2 separate regions of the Homo sapiens genome follow, and region 2 is linked to region 1. The links are contacts of gene promoters, found by promoter capture Hi-C in blood cells and fetal thymus (Javierre and others, 2016). All regions are on one chromosome and are shown on one strand. The core of a region is centred on a gene start or on the middle of the fragment in contact, and the rest is flanking DNA. Distances in the headings are between cores, read along the strand shown.

Evidence for each region. Contacts are between HindIII fragments. The CHiCAGO score rates a contact against its expected background, and 5 or more counts as called.
Region 2: a contact is called between the fragment with the promoter of OR8D2 here and the fragment with the promoter of ZNF202 in region 1, in 1 of 17 cell types (naive B cells). The highest score is 5.4, in naive B cells.

Annotation. Positions count from the first base shown.
Region 1 is chr11:123,737,551-123,743,924 of GRCh38, reverse strand. It overlaps ZNF202 (zinc finger protein 202), which reads left to right and starts at 2,265. Exons shown (of 9, transcript NM_003455.4): 1 at 2,265-2,376; 2 at 3,389-3,508; 3 at 3,733-3,808. RefSeq lists enhancers at 1,083-1,680, 2,670-2,879 and silencers at 2,270-2,319, 2,360-2,489. The HindIII fragment of the contact is 6,844 bases long and covers 1-4,825 here.
Region 2 is chr11:124,316,439-124,322,763 of GRCh38, reverse strand. It overlaps OR8D2 (olfactory receptor family 8 subfamily D member 2), which reads left to right and starts at 2,567. Exons shown (of 1, transcript NM_001002918.1): 1 at 2,567-3,502. The coding sequence starts at 2,567. The coding sequence ends at 3,502. LOC112268069 (a long non-coding RNA gene) reads right to left here. Exons shown (of 3, transcript XR_002957213.2): 2 at 4,358-4,438. The HindIII fragment of the contact is 6,670 bases long and covers 1-6,167 here.

The DNA of each region.
Region 1 (6,374 bases), core at 1,016-3,515:
TTGATATCTGACCATCCTTAATACCTGGTCAGTGTCCTCATCCTCCATCACGCCCCAGGTGATGTCTGATCAACCTGGCCTGTCTTCAGCAAGAATCCTATTAGGTTGACTTAGCCAGAATCCGCCTTAAGCCTGATGTTTCCCCTTAGTAATTTTCAATCCATCGACGTCCCAAACTCCAAAAAAAGTTCCTTGACTATAAATTCCCACTTGCCCATTCTGTATTCAGAGTTCAGCCCAATCTCTCATCCCTACAGCAAGACTTCATTGCAGTGGTTTCTTTACCTTTCCTGGTCCTGAATAAGGTCTCCCTTACCATGCTCTAACAAGTATCACTGAATAATTTTTCCTTTAACACTGTAATGCATTAAATGTTTAGAAGAAGATGTTTATGTATTATTTATGCACTTAATACCAATATTTTAAAATATTCAATGAGATTTACAGAGAAAAATATTTGGTACACAGTAGGCTTTCATGAAATGTATATTTCTCTTTGTATTGGGTAATTTTATGTGTCAACTTGACTAGCTAAGGGATGCCCAGACAACAGAAAACATTATTAGTCGGTGTGTCTGTGAGGGTGTTTCTGGCCAATATGGTGAAACCCCCTCTCTACTAAAAATACACACACACAAAAAAAAAATAGCTGGGCATGGTGGCACATGCCTGTAATCCCAGCTATTCGGGAGGCTGAGGCAGGAGAATTGCTTGAACCCAGGAGGCAGACATTGCAGTAAGCCGAGATCGCTGGGCGACAGAGCAAGACTCTGTCCAAAAAAAAAAAAAAAAAAAAAAAAGAGAGAGAGATTAGCATTTGAATCAGTAGACTGAGTAAAGAAAATCACTCTCACCACTATGCGTAGGCACCATCCAATCCATTGAGGGCCCAAATAGTATAAAAAGGCAGAGGAAAAGTAAATTCACCTCTCTCTTCTTGAGCTGGGACATCATCTCCTCCTGCTCTCTGGCCTTCAGACACCAGCACCTCAATCCCTTTCCAGTTCTCAGGCCTTCAGCTTTAGACTGAATTATACCACCAACCTCCTTATTTCTCCAGCTTGCAGTAAGCAGATGGTGGGACTTCTCAACGTCCATAATTATGTAAGCCAACTCCTTATAATAAATCTCCTTTTATATGTTTATACATACCCCGTGTGAAAGGAAAGTGATTTGGGGCCCCCAAAATCACTAAAGGGAAAATTCATGCTGGGAACTGCTTAGGGCAAACCTGCCTCCCCTTCTATTCAAAGTCACCTCTCTGCTCACTGAGATAAATGCATATCTGATTGCCTCCTTCCGGAGAGGCTAATCAGCAACTCAATGCAACCATTTGTGTCTTATCTACCTATGACCTGGAAGCCCCCTCCCCGCTTTGAGTTGTCCTGCCTTCTGGGTTCACACCTATTAGTTCTGTTTCGCTAATACACTGCCACTCCACCAAAAGTAACTAATCCTTTGGTTCAAACCCAGTAAACAGATCCCAGCAATGTGTCCCATGAAAAGGAAGTGGCACATGGCACGTGGAGAGTGGTGACTTACAGGGTAAAAGGGACAGAGAGCAAAGGAAAATGTCAAGTATGGGCAGAAAGGTCACCGAACGGACAAAAATGAACAAATGAGATCAGGGAAGACAGCCTGAAAGTAAAGAAATACGAAGCAACACTCAAAGGAAAAGAAAGAACAGTGATACCATAACTATTTTCTTTCTGAGCTTCTGATGTTCCATTCAGTTCATGTGCAATGTATCATTTAGTCCTCAGAGTAACGGTATTATTATGCCCGTTTTATATGATGCACAATAGGGTTCAAAGATGGAGAGATTCGGCCGAGGCCCTGCTGCTGATGGTGACTGCAAGAGCCAGTATTCAAACCTAACGCTGCCCTTTTCTACCATGTTGCAGCGGACAATGCAAAGAAAAAAAAATCAAGAAAAACACGTAGAGGTATCCAAATGAAAACAAACACACAAAAGATCAAAAACAGAAAAGAAAAAAGAAAAGAAAAAGAAAACCCTTGCAGAAGGTATGCCTGTAAATGAAAGGCCCAAGATGTTAATTTATTCGCTGCAGAGTGGAGTTAGGGGTCGCGGACGGCAGCTGTGGGGTCCGAGGCTTCTTCGCACTGGGTCCTTGGGGAGCACTGAGCCGCAACCCGCGGAGGGCGCATAGAGAGGATCAAACCTCCCACAGCCTAGAAAGGCTCCTACTCGGCGAGAAGGCGGGGCGAGCGATCGCTTCCGGTTCCGGGCGCAAAGGCCCCACGTGTTCCGACCCGCTAGGCCCCGCGCGGCTCGGATCCGGCGGCGCTGTTTCGGTCGGGAGTGGGTGGGAGAGAAGCCGGGGCAGGGGAGGAGCCGCCGGAGCTGTCGGAGCCGTGAGTCCTGAGTGGGCTGGGCTGGGCCGGGCCGGGCTGGACCGGGCCGGACCAGATCGGGCAGAGCCGGGCAGGGCGGGGAGGAGGGGGAGGGACCGGAGACCCCGCCCCCCAGAGTCTGGGGAAATCGCCGTGTCCTGGGGAAGGGGTGGCGGCGGTGTACTGAGGGTGCCGAGACGTTGTGGTCTCTGTGTTTCCTGGTGGCCGGAGCCAGTATCTCCGGGGACACGGATGGCGCTCCCGGCTTCCTTTCCTTTCCAGCCACCGCCCTCCGCCCCCTCCTGGGGCCTGCAGAAATGTAGTTAGTCCGTACCTCGTACCTCCTAACGCTTCCGCGCCAACTGTCCCCCCGGAACCGAGGGAGGAGTGGTCTAGGCCCCTTTATTTTCCGCAGCTTTTTCTTACCCCTCCTCTCAGATTGCTTAAGATCATCTCCGCGGGCTCCTTGCCCCGGCTAGCCCCATCTCCTTACACCACCAAGCCCCCCTCAGCCCCCCAGCACACACCCAGATACACTCACCCGTGATCTTGTCACCTGTGATGATAGTAGTCCTTGGCGTCCATTTGGCCAGAGGCTTTTCAGCTGCCACTGTGACAGACCCTGAGGTCCCCTCAAGCCAGTAGCTGCTGTCTCCACTTGCAACTTTCCTCTCCTCCCACTCCTAACAGCCAGTTTTGGCACCTCTTCTCAGCACCTGCGTTACTTTTAGCAGGAGTATACCTACTTCTTGAGTGTCTTGATTAAAAATTTGTTTTTGTGCCATGGATAGGCTGTGTTCCTTCAGAAAGGTGTCAGTCTAATTTTTGTTTTTCTGAACAATGAATGTTCTCATCTTCTAGGCGCTTTGATAACCCTGTCTGCCTTGGAATCTGTACTGACCTCCCCAGAGGGAGACTCTTAGACCCAGCCTTTCTTGAACAACCTTGGTCCTGGGGAGCAGCGCTAGATCCCAGGCTCTCAATTAGAGGCTGGGCTTAGAACTGTTGCTTTTTCTCTATCCACGCTCTGCAGGTGACACCCAGGGCAGCTACACTCAGAAGCCACAAGGAATGCTAGTGGAGCCCCTCATCCCTCCCAGCTTCTCTTCCAAGCTGCCCCGTGGGGCTTGATCCAGGAAGCTACTTCAGAAAGGTTGTGGGATAGCCTTGGGAGGAGGTTTGTTGGTGGGAAGCGTGTGAACGCGGAGCAGTCTGGGATAACTTTCTGCTGTTACTATCTAGCATAAGAGGGTGGGCAGGGTTGGAGAGAGGACAGGAATTTTTCCTCCTAGGACCAAACGCCTGGGATTCATAATCTTTCACCCTTTCTCCTCCAGCTATACCCTTTTTGTACTCTGTGTATATACTATATTGCAGTAGACAATCATTCCAAGGGTACAACAAGGTTTACCACAATGTGAGGGACTCAGCCATTGCAAATTGTACAGATGAGGTAAGTTACAGGTTTACATTTTTTTTTCCCAGTAAATTTGGCACAGATTTAAAATGTGAAACAGTTCTATACCCCTTGTTTTTGCTGTTCTCTCACCAGCAAACCCTTTAGTTTGGCCAGCAATGGCTTTCTGCATGAACTTCAGATTTACTTCATTTGCTAGGTGGTGGTTCTCAAACTTACTATAAGCACCTGAAGGGCTAGTTAAACGCATATTGCTGGGGCCCACCCCTAGAGTTTCTGGTAATAGGTCTGTGCTGGGGCTTGAGAATTTGTACTTCTAACAAGGCTCAGGTACTGATGCTGCAGATCTGGGTTCTTCACTTTGAGAACAACTACCTTTTGGCCAAATGTGATATATGTATTGCAGTAGGTTGAGGTTCAGAATACCTTTGTTTGAGTACTTCTGTGTTGGAAACTAGTAATCTGATCTTTTATAGATAATCACTTAGGTCTGAATATTTTGTTCGCAAAATTAAGAAAGCGTACTTAAAACAACTGAATGCTATATGCCAAATTTGAGGTGAAATATTGATAAGTTCTTCCCCTTGATTTTCTTAATTCTCTTGATAGGGGCTTCACGTTTTGATCAAAATATTACACCTGTATTCTGGGCTTTTGCTGTGAATTCCTAGTATTGCTAAAATTCTGCAATTTCTTAACTACCTGTTAAGTTCCTCAAGGTCAGAGCTTCTGCTTTTTTTATCTTTCTTTGCCCAGCACCTTGAATAGTGTGGGACACGTAATTGACGCTCAGTAGATATTTGTGTATTGAACTCCATCCCTTGTCCTCCTCCCCTCTTGATGTTTTTCTCTACTGGCCTTATGCTACACAGTAAAGCAGGGCATGATTATGCCACTTGATTACCCCCAAGAGATTGGAATAAATGCTTATGCCAAATTCCTACAGCTATCCCTGTGAATGGTTTATTACCCAGGAGCCCTGACACTGGCTGATTTCTGAATTTTCAGTGCTTCTGTAATATATACTAGTTGGGGGAGGAGAAATAGAAAGCTTAAACTCAATGTGCGTTTATTGAATACCTTTTCTACTAAGGGCTCCACAAAGTGGTAGGCACTGGGAATATAAAAATGAATAAGGAGACCCTTGCTCTCGAGGGCAGGGCCCACAGTGGGGAGACAGACGTTAAGCCATGCCCACGACAAGAATGACTTCTGAGATTCCTTCTCTGGATCATGATTTAGTCTTCAGTGGAAACCTGGTACTCCTCAGATTCCTCTGGTTCAACAGGCGGGGATCCCATCCCTTATCATCTCCTCAAATGCTAAAGGACCCTTGAGCAAAGCCAGGAGGAAGTCATCTAGACGTGAAACAGGGAGTATCCACACAGGCTGTGTTAATGACAAAGCTAAAAACATAGTAAATGACTTTTGAATTTACTGCTGTTATGAATTATCTATAGCAACACCTCCGGTCAGCTCTGTTATATATGTTATTGCGTTATTTCCCATTAAATGATGGTTCCTCTGACTATCTGATTGGCATTGACTATGTTTGTTGTAGAGATTGCATACATCTAGTTTAACTCTGGCTGTCAAATGAGAGCAGTTACTCTTATCAGGATGGGTGTCAGGTTTGATGTCCCCTCCTTTTCCTGCTTCAGGTTAATTTGTCATGTTCTGTTTTAAACTGAGACATATAGCTTGACCTCCTTTATTTAGGCCATTAACTGCTCTGGGGTAGTTTTCCTGAAGGTTAAAAAGCCTAGCTTCATGATGGAGGTTAACCAACATGACCATGATGGCCAGGTGTATAAATCTGGCCTCTTAAAAATCTGTATTTGAGGCTGGGTGCAGTGGCTCACACCTGTAATCCTAACACTTTGGGAGGCCAAAGCTGGCAGATCACTTGAGCCCAGGTATTTGAGACCAGCCTGGGCAACATGGCAAGACCCCTTCTCTATAAAAAATTTAAACATTAGCTGGGCATGGTGGCATGTGCTGTAGTCCCAGATACTTAGGAGGCTGGGGTGGGAGGATGGCCTGAACCTGGGAGGCAGAGATTGCAGTGAGTTGTGATCTTGCCACTGCACTCCAGTCTTAGCAACAGAGTAAACCCTATCTCAAAACTTAAAAATCTGTGTTTGGCCCCTAGCCGTCCTCAGCTCTTGAGTAAATCTCAGCATCCTAGGCTGTTACATTATGGCCCAAATATTCAATAGAGATGCTGTATATCCTTGTTCCTCTCAAAACCCCTCCTCATCACCATCAAAAAGCTGGTTCAGTTCTCTACCTTTAGATAAAGAATCATCCCAAGACTCAACATGAGCTGCCGTGACTTGTCCAAGATGACACCTCTTTACAATGTAGAGCAGTGGACAGAACACAGGTCACCCTCCGCCGAAGGCAACTATCTACTGTCTAACATTGCCTCCTAGGCCTGCCATATATAACCATCAAAAACAGTTTAGAATAAAGTGAATTGTTACAATTTTTATTTTTCATTTTTGTGTTTACATTTACTCTCAATGACATGTTTATTCCCACCTAATATCTTGAGGCTAACCACAAAATCTGCAGCATTTCCAGACAGAAGATACTTGTG
Region 2 (6,325 bases), core at 1,318-3,817, 580 kb before region 1:
GGAGCTACAATAAAAAGGGGGCACATAGAGGGCTCTGGGGTGCTGGTGATATTCTATTTATAGATCTGCATGGTGGTTAAAGCTGCTCATTTTATAGTAGGTGGAAGTATATATATTTTCTACATTTTTATATATGTATTTAAGCTAAATTTCACAATACAATAAGGTTATAAAACTTTGATTACAGCTATACTCAAGTGAACAGTAAACTAATCCATGAACAAGATTGAGAATAAGGCCTCAGTATGTGGGAACAACTTCCTAGTACAGATGGCTCACAGAAAGGAGAATCGGCAGAGGTAGGGTAACACTTTTAAAAAACTTAGAGTAATTCAGATCATAGCAAGGAAGAGATGATTGTCTTTACCACACCAGATGATAAATGTAGTCATTACTCTTGATGTCTGTGGGAGAAGAAAGTATAAATACAATCTCATGGTATAAATTTGTAGAGGGAGAGCATCAGGACAAACAGCTAATGCATTTGGGGCTTAAAACCTAATGCATTTGGGGTGCAGCAAACCACCATGGCACATGCATACCTATGTAGCAAACCTGCACGTTCTGCACATGTACACCAGAATTTAAAGTAAAAAAAGTAGTATGTTATATATCATTATGCTTAGCTTAATGAGTAATAAAGAGGGTAAAGTTCTCATTCCATAGCACGTAATTTTAAATTCTTAACCTTTCTACTTTATTGAGATAGTCTTTTCTAAAAGAAATACTCTAGGCATTATTTGTGATAGTTCTGTGATGAAAATAATTTGGGAATATATCAATATAGAAATGTTACGGATATAGGAAAGAATGTGCTTCAATCACTAGACCTATTATTAAGCAGCCTCCCTTGGGTGGCAATGCGGCTGTTAGGCAGGATTCATATCCAACACAGGGTCCATGCATGCACATCAGCCAATAGTAAGGGAGGGTTCCACAAGCCTGGCATGGGAACTAGGCAGGGAAGAGAAGGGGACTTAAGGCAGAAGCAGGAACCTGGACAAAGGAAAAGGCAGAGGCTCACGACAGAGGTGGGAACTTCAAGAAAGTGTCGGACATCATCTCAAAAACCCAGTGCAGAACTCTCAAGCTGCTGCTGGCTCACTCCCCTTCAGCAGCCAGCTCTGTCTCACCTTTCCAGAGTGTACTGTCTCTCTCTAAATAAGCTCTCTGCTATTTTTCTTCAACAAATTCTCTTTTTGGCTAATTCAGTCATTTGGTAGAATATTTTTCCAAGTAAGGCTAAAAATCTAGAATTCCTGAACTTCCCGTAACAGGGCTTGTTAGAGTTGCATTCTGGTAACTCTGATTCTCTTTCTCTTAGAGTATTCTCTAATTCCCCTAATTCAGAAACATGGCTGTCTTCTCAAGTGCTCTTGGAGATAACACCCCACCTGTCAGCTTTTAAATCGATATACATATTGAGTACCCTTAAAACACTGTAGAAGCAAATTTTTATAAATTTTTGTTTGTGATCATAAAAATATGTTTTTATGCAAAATAAAAGCAAACAACATCTCACTCTATGTATGGAGTTTTTCCTCCCTTGACATTTTTTCTCACTTTGGAAAAAAATTATGAAACCTGATGTCTTAGGTAATATACAGTGTTTCAGCTGAAAGCAACACACCCTGAATCCTTTGCTTAAACTTTAGGGGAAACGAAGTCAGGGAATAAGAAATCTCCAGTTCAGATCTCACAGCTTTGAAAGAGAAAGGTCAGTGAGAGTTTGGCCATGAATAATGGATAGCAGGAAAGGGCCAAGGAGGGAAGCGCTGAGTTGCTGATGGTTCAGGTCTTACACCTGAAAGTCAGCCTTACTTCTTTGCTTCTTTGCTGTTTCTGGAACAGGAAAGATCTAAACTAGAATCTCAGGATAGCCCTTGGCACAACATTTCTGTCAACCACATCCACACTGAGTACAAGAATCTCCTGGCCCACTCAAGTTTTCCATTCAAAGAACAGAAGTGAGCTAATGAGGGTCAGAATTGATTAGAACCATTTCCATACTTTTTTTTTTTGTACTAAGGTCTCTTTATAGACGTCTTTTATGTTTCTTATTTCCTAGTTTTAGCAAATGCTAATTATGTTGATTCATGTTGATGGGTAAGGAAACTGAAATGGACTACTTTTATATCATCAGAGCTGGATTAGAAGCCATGTTGTAACAAAGTCTGAAGGTTCTATTGGCATATGCTCAGATAAAGAAGGTAAGCAGTGTTGTTTTAATGGTAGCAATGACAAACTAATTAGATTTGGAAAGTTTGTGCTTCCTCCAGCAGTGAGGTAATTATGGGCATAAGCCTGGAAACAAAATGGGAGGACTCTTACTAAAAGAGGAGCATTCAACAGGGTTTTGGGTGAAATCAAGGTTCTTGGTTATACTCATAATATTTGCCCTTGATCTTGTAAGAGGTCCCTGAAAAGAGGCAATCATGGGACAGATGAGGCTCTCAGGAATGGAAGCAACCAACATGGGGCATGTCATTCTGCTTTGGGAATCAGAAAATAAATCTAATGTCTCTCTTTTCTCTTATTTCTTATTACACATAATACCTTAAAAGACATGGCTACTTCAAACCATTCTTCAGGGGCTGAGTTTATCCTGGCAGGCTTGACACAACGCCCAGAACTTCAACTGCCACTCTTCCTCCTGTTCCTTGGAATATATGTGGTCACAGTGGTGGGGAACCTGGGCATGATCTTCTTAATTGCTCTCAGTTCTCAACTTTACCCTCCAGTGTATTATTTTCTCAGTCATTTGTCTTTCATTGATCTCTGCTACTCCTCTGTCATTACCCCTAAGATGCTGGTGAACTTTGTTCCAGAGGAGAACATTATCTCCTTTCTGGAATGCATTACTCAACTTTATTTCTTCCTTATTTTTGTAATTGCAGAAGGCTACCTTCTGACAGCCATGGAATATGACCGTTATGTTGCTATCTGTCGCCCACTGCTTTACAATATTGTCATGTCCCACAGGGTCTGTTCCATAATGATGGCTGTGGTATACTCACTGGGTTTTCTGTGGGCCACAGTCCATACTACCCGCATGTCAGTGTTGTCATTCTGTAGGTCTCATACGGTCAGTCATTATTTTTGTGATATTCTCCCCTTATTGACTCTGTCTTGCTCCAGCACCCACATCAATGAGATTCTGCTGTTCATTATTGGAGGAGTTAATACCTTAGCAACTACACTGGCGGTCCTTATCTCTTATGCTTTCATTTTCTCTAGTATCCTTGGTATTCATTCCACTGAGGGGCAATCCAAAGCCTTTGGCACTTGTAGCTCCCATCTCTTGGCTGTGGGCATCTTTTTTGGGTCTATAACATTCATGTATTTCAAGCCCCCTTCCAGCACTACTATGGAAAAAGAGAAGGTGTCTTCTGTGTTCTACATCACAATAATCCCCATGCTGAATCCTCTAATCTATAGCCTGAGGAACAAGGATGTGAAAAATGCACTGAAGAAGATGACTAGGGGAAGGCAGTCATCCTGACAAAGAGGGTTCTCATTGGCAGCCAGAAAAAATAAACCATATAAAAAGTTGTTATAGGATCTTTGTAAGTTTCTGTCTCTCTCGGAGAGAGAAAAATTATCATCACTTAAAAATGTATATTTTATATTAGAGAATGATTAAGACATTTTTGGAGATTATGAAACAAAATTTTCTGATGGTCAATATAATCTTCGAAAATGTATTAGAGAAATGGGAGATGACAGAAGAGGAAGGGCAAATAAACATTAAAAACAATTTATTGAACATATTACTTTTGAAAGCCCAGGCTGGTCTTGAACTTCTGGCCTCAAGTAATCCTCCAAACTTGGCCTCCCAATGTGCTGGAATTAGAAGCCTGAGTCACGATCCTCAGCCTTGAAATAGTTGATTTAATGGATGACAGAGCATGATTCACAAAGACTTTTAAAGGCTGGAGTGATAGTCGCATTTAATGAGATTTTAAAAATGTACATGGGTAATATAAGATTCTATACTTCTATAAAAATGGAGAGAGTGGGAAAAACTTTATTTAACTCCAGAGAATTAAGGATTTTTGACAATATAAGTAAAAAGCATAACTACCTAGAAAGTTACTGTTACCTTGTCTGCATTAGCTACATTTTAGTATTTAGAATGAGGAACATTCTAGTTATCACTTGCACAACAGCAATTAGACTGTGTCCACTTGAAAGTAATTTACTTTGTTGATATTACTATTTAAGAGGCCACTGGCATTCTGAAATATATTCTGAGACGCATGGCCATGATGAAGCAACTTGAAATCACACATTCATTGATTTGTTTATTCTTTGGGTCATTCATTTAAGGAATACTCATTGAATGCCCACTACATACCTGTCACTATTCCTCATACTGGTGATAAAGAGATGAACAAAAGTCACAAACTCCTTGCCTTCATTAGATTTAGGTTTTAGCCTGAAAGAAAGGCAATAAACAGGGAGAAAAATACATCATAGAATCTCAGATCATAAAATGTCTTAGAAAATAAAGCCAAGAGGATAGAAATTGCTCACAGATATTAGAGGATAATTAAGTTACACATAGGAGTTACACACAGAAGGGCTGTAGGCTAGTTATTGAGGTTTTAGTAGTTCTTGCCACAGAGCACAAGTAGGCTAAAGAAGACTCTTCCAAAAATCAGAACTATCAAAAAATAATTAGCTATCTTGGGAATTTATGAACTATCCAGCAGTAGGGATTTAAGTACATATTCCAGACAGAATATTCAACCATTCTGTCTGGAATATTTCTGAGAAGAATCAAATGCTGGCTAAGAATATGACCAAACTGATCCCTTTGTTCATTGCTAACACTGAGGTTTTATGATCCATTCATTTCATCACCTTCTGATACTTTCTATTCCATCTCTTTTTATCCTTTCCACTATCTGAACATGCCTACTCCCCCTTTCCTATAATCTCTTTTATTCCCTTTCTCTTTTTCTTCCACTTTACAAGTTCCCATAAATCAGAACTAATTGTTTGGAAGTCCTAACTAGAGCAATCAGACAAGAGAAAGAAAGGGCATCCAAATTAGAAAGGAAGAAGTCAAGTTATCGTTGCTTGCAGATGACATGATCTTATGTTTAGAAAAGCCTAAAGATGCCACCAAAAAAAACTATTAGAACTGATTTGGAAAAGTTCAAATTCAATTTGAACTTTTTTTCTGGACTTTTTGAACTTTTCAGAGAAGTTCAAATTGTTCAGAAAAGTTTAAATTCATTTTGTACTACTGAACAAACTCAGTAAAGTTGCAAGATATAAAGTTGACATACAAAATCAGTAGCATTTCTACATGCCAACAGTGAGCAATCTGAAAAAGAAATTTAAGAAGTAATCCTATTTACAATACCTACAACTCAAATAAAATACCTAGAAATTAACCAAAGAAGTGAAATATCTCTACAATGAAAATTATAAAACATCGATGAAAGAAAGAGAACACACACACACACACACACACACACACACACACACACACACAAATAAAAAGTTATTCCAAGTTCACGGACTGGAAAAATCAATATTGTTAAAATGTTCATACTACCCATTGCACTCAATCTACCAATTCAGTGCAATCCCTATCAAAATATCACTGGCATTTTTTCACAGAAATGAAACAACAATCCTAAAATGTATGTGGAACCACAAAAGATATAGAATAGCCAAAGCTATCCTGAGCAGAACAAAACTAGAGGAACCACATTACCTCCCAAACTGGAGGAATCAAATTATACAACAAGCTATAGTAATCAAAAGAGCATGGTACTTGTATAAAAGCAGACACAAAGACCAATGGAACAGAATAGAGAACTCAGAAACAAATCCATACATATTCTCATTTTTGACAAAAGAGCCAACATACATTGGGGAAAGGATTGTCTGTTCAATACTTGATGCTGGAAAACTGAATATCCATACGCAAAAGAATGAAACTTGACCCCTGTCTCTCACCATATACAAAAATAAAATCAAAATGGACTAAAGACTTAAATACAAGACCTTAAACTATGAAACTACTAAAAGAAAACATTGGGGAAATTCTCAGAACATTGGAGTGGGCAAATAGTTCTTGAGGGATACTCCATAAGCACAGACAACCAAAGCAAAAATGGACAAACGGGATTACATCATATTAAAAAGCTTCTGCACAGCAAAGGAAACAATCAACAAAAGTGAAGAGATAACCCACAGAATGGAAGAAAATATTTGCCAAATATCCAACTGAAAAGGGATTAATAAGCAGAATATATAAGGAGCTTAAATGACTCTATGGGAAAAATCTAATGATCTGATTTTAAAA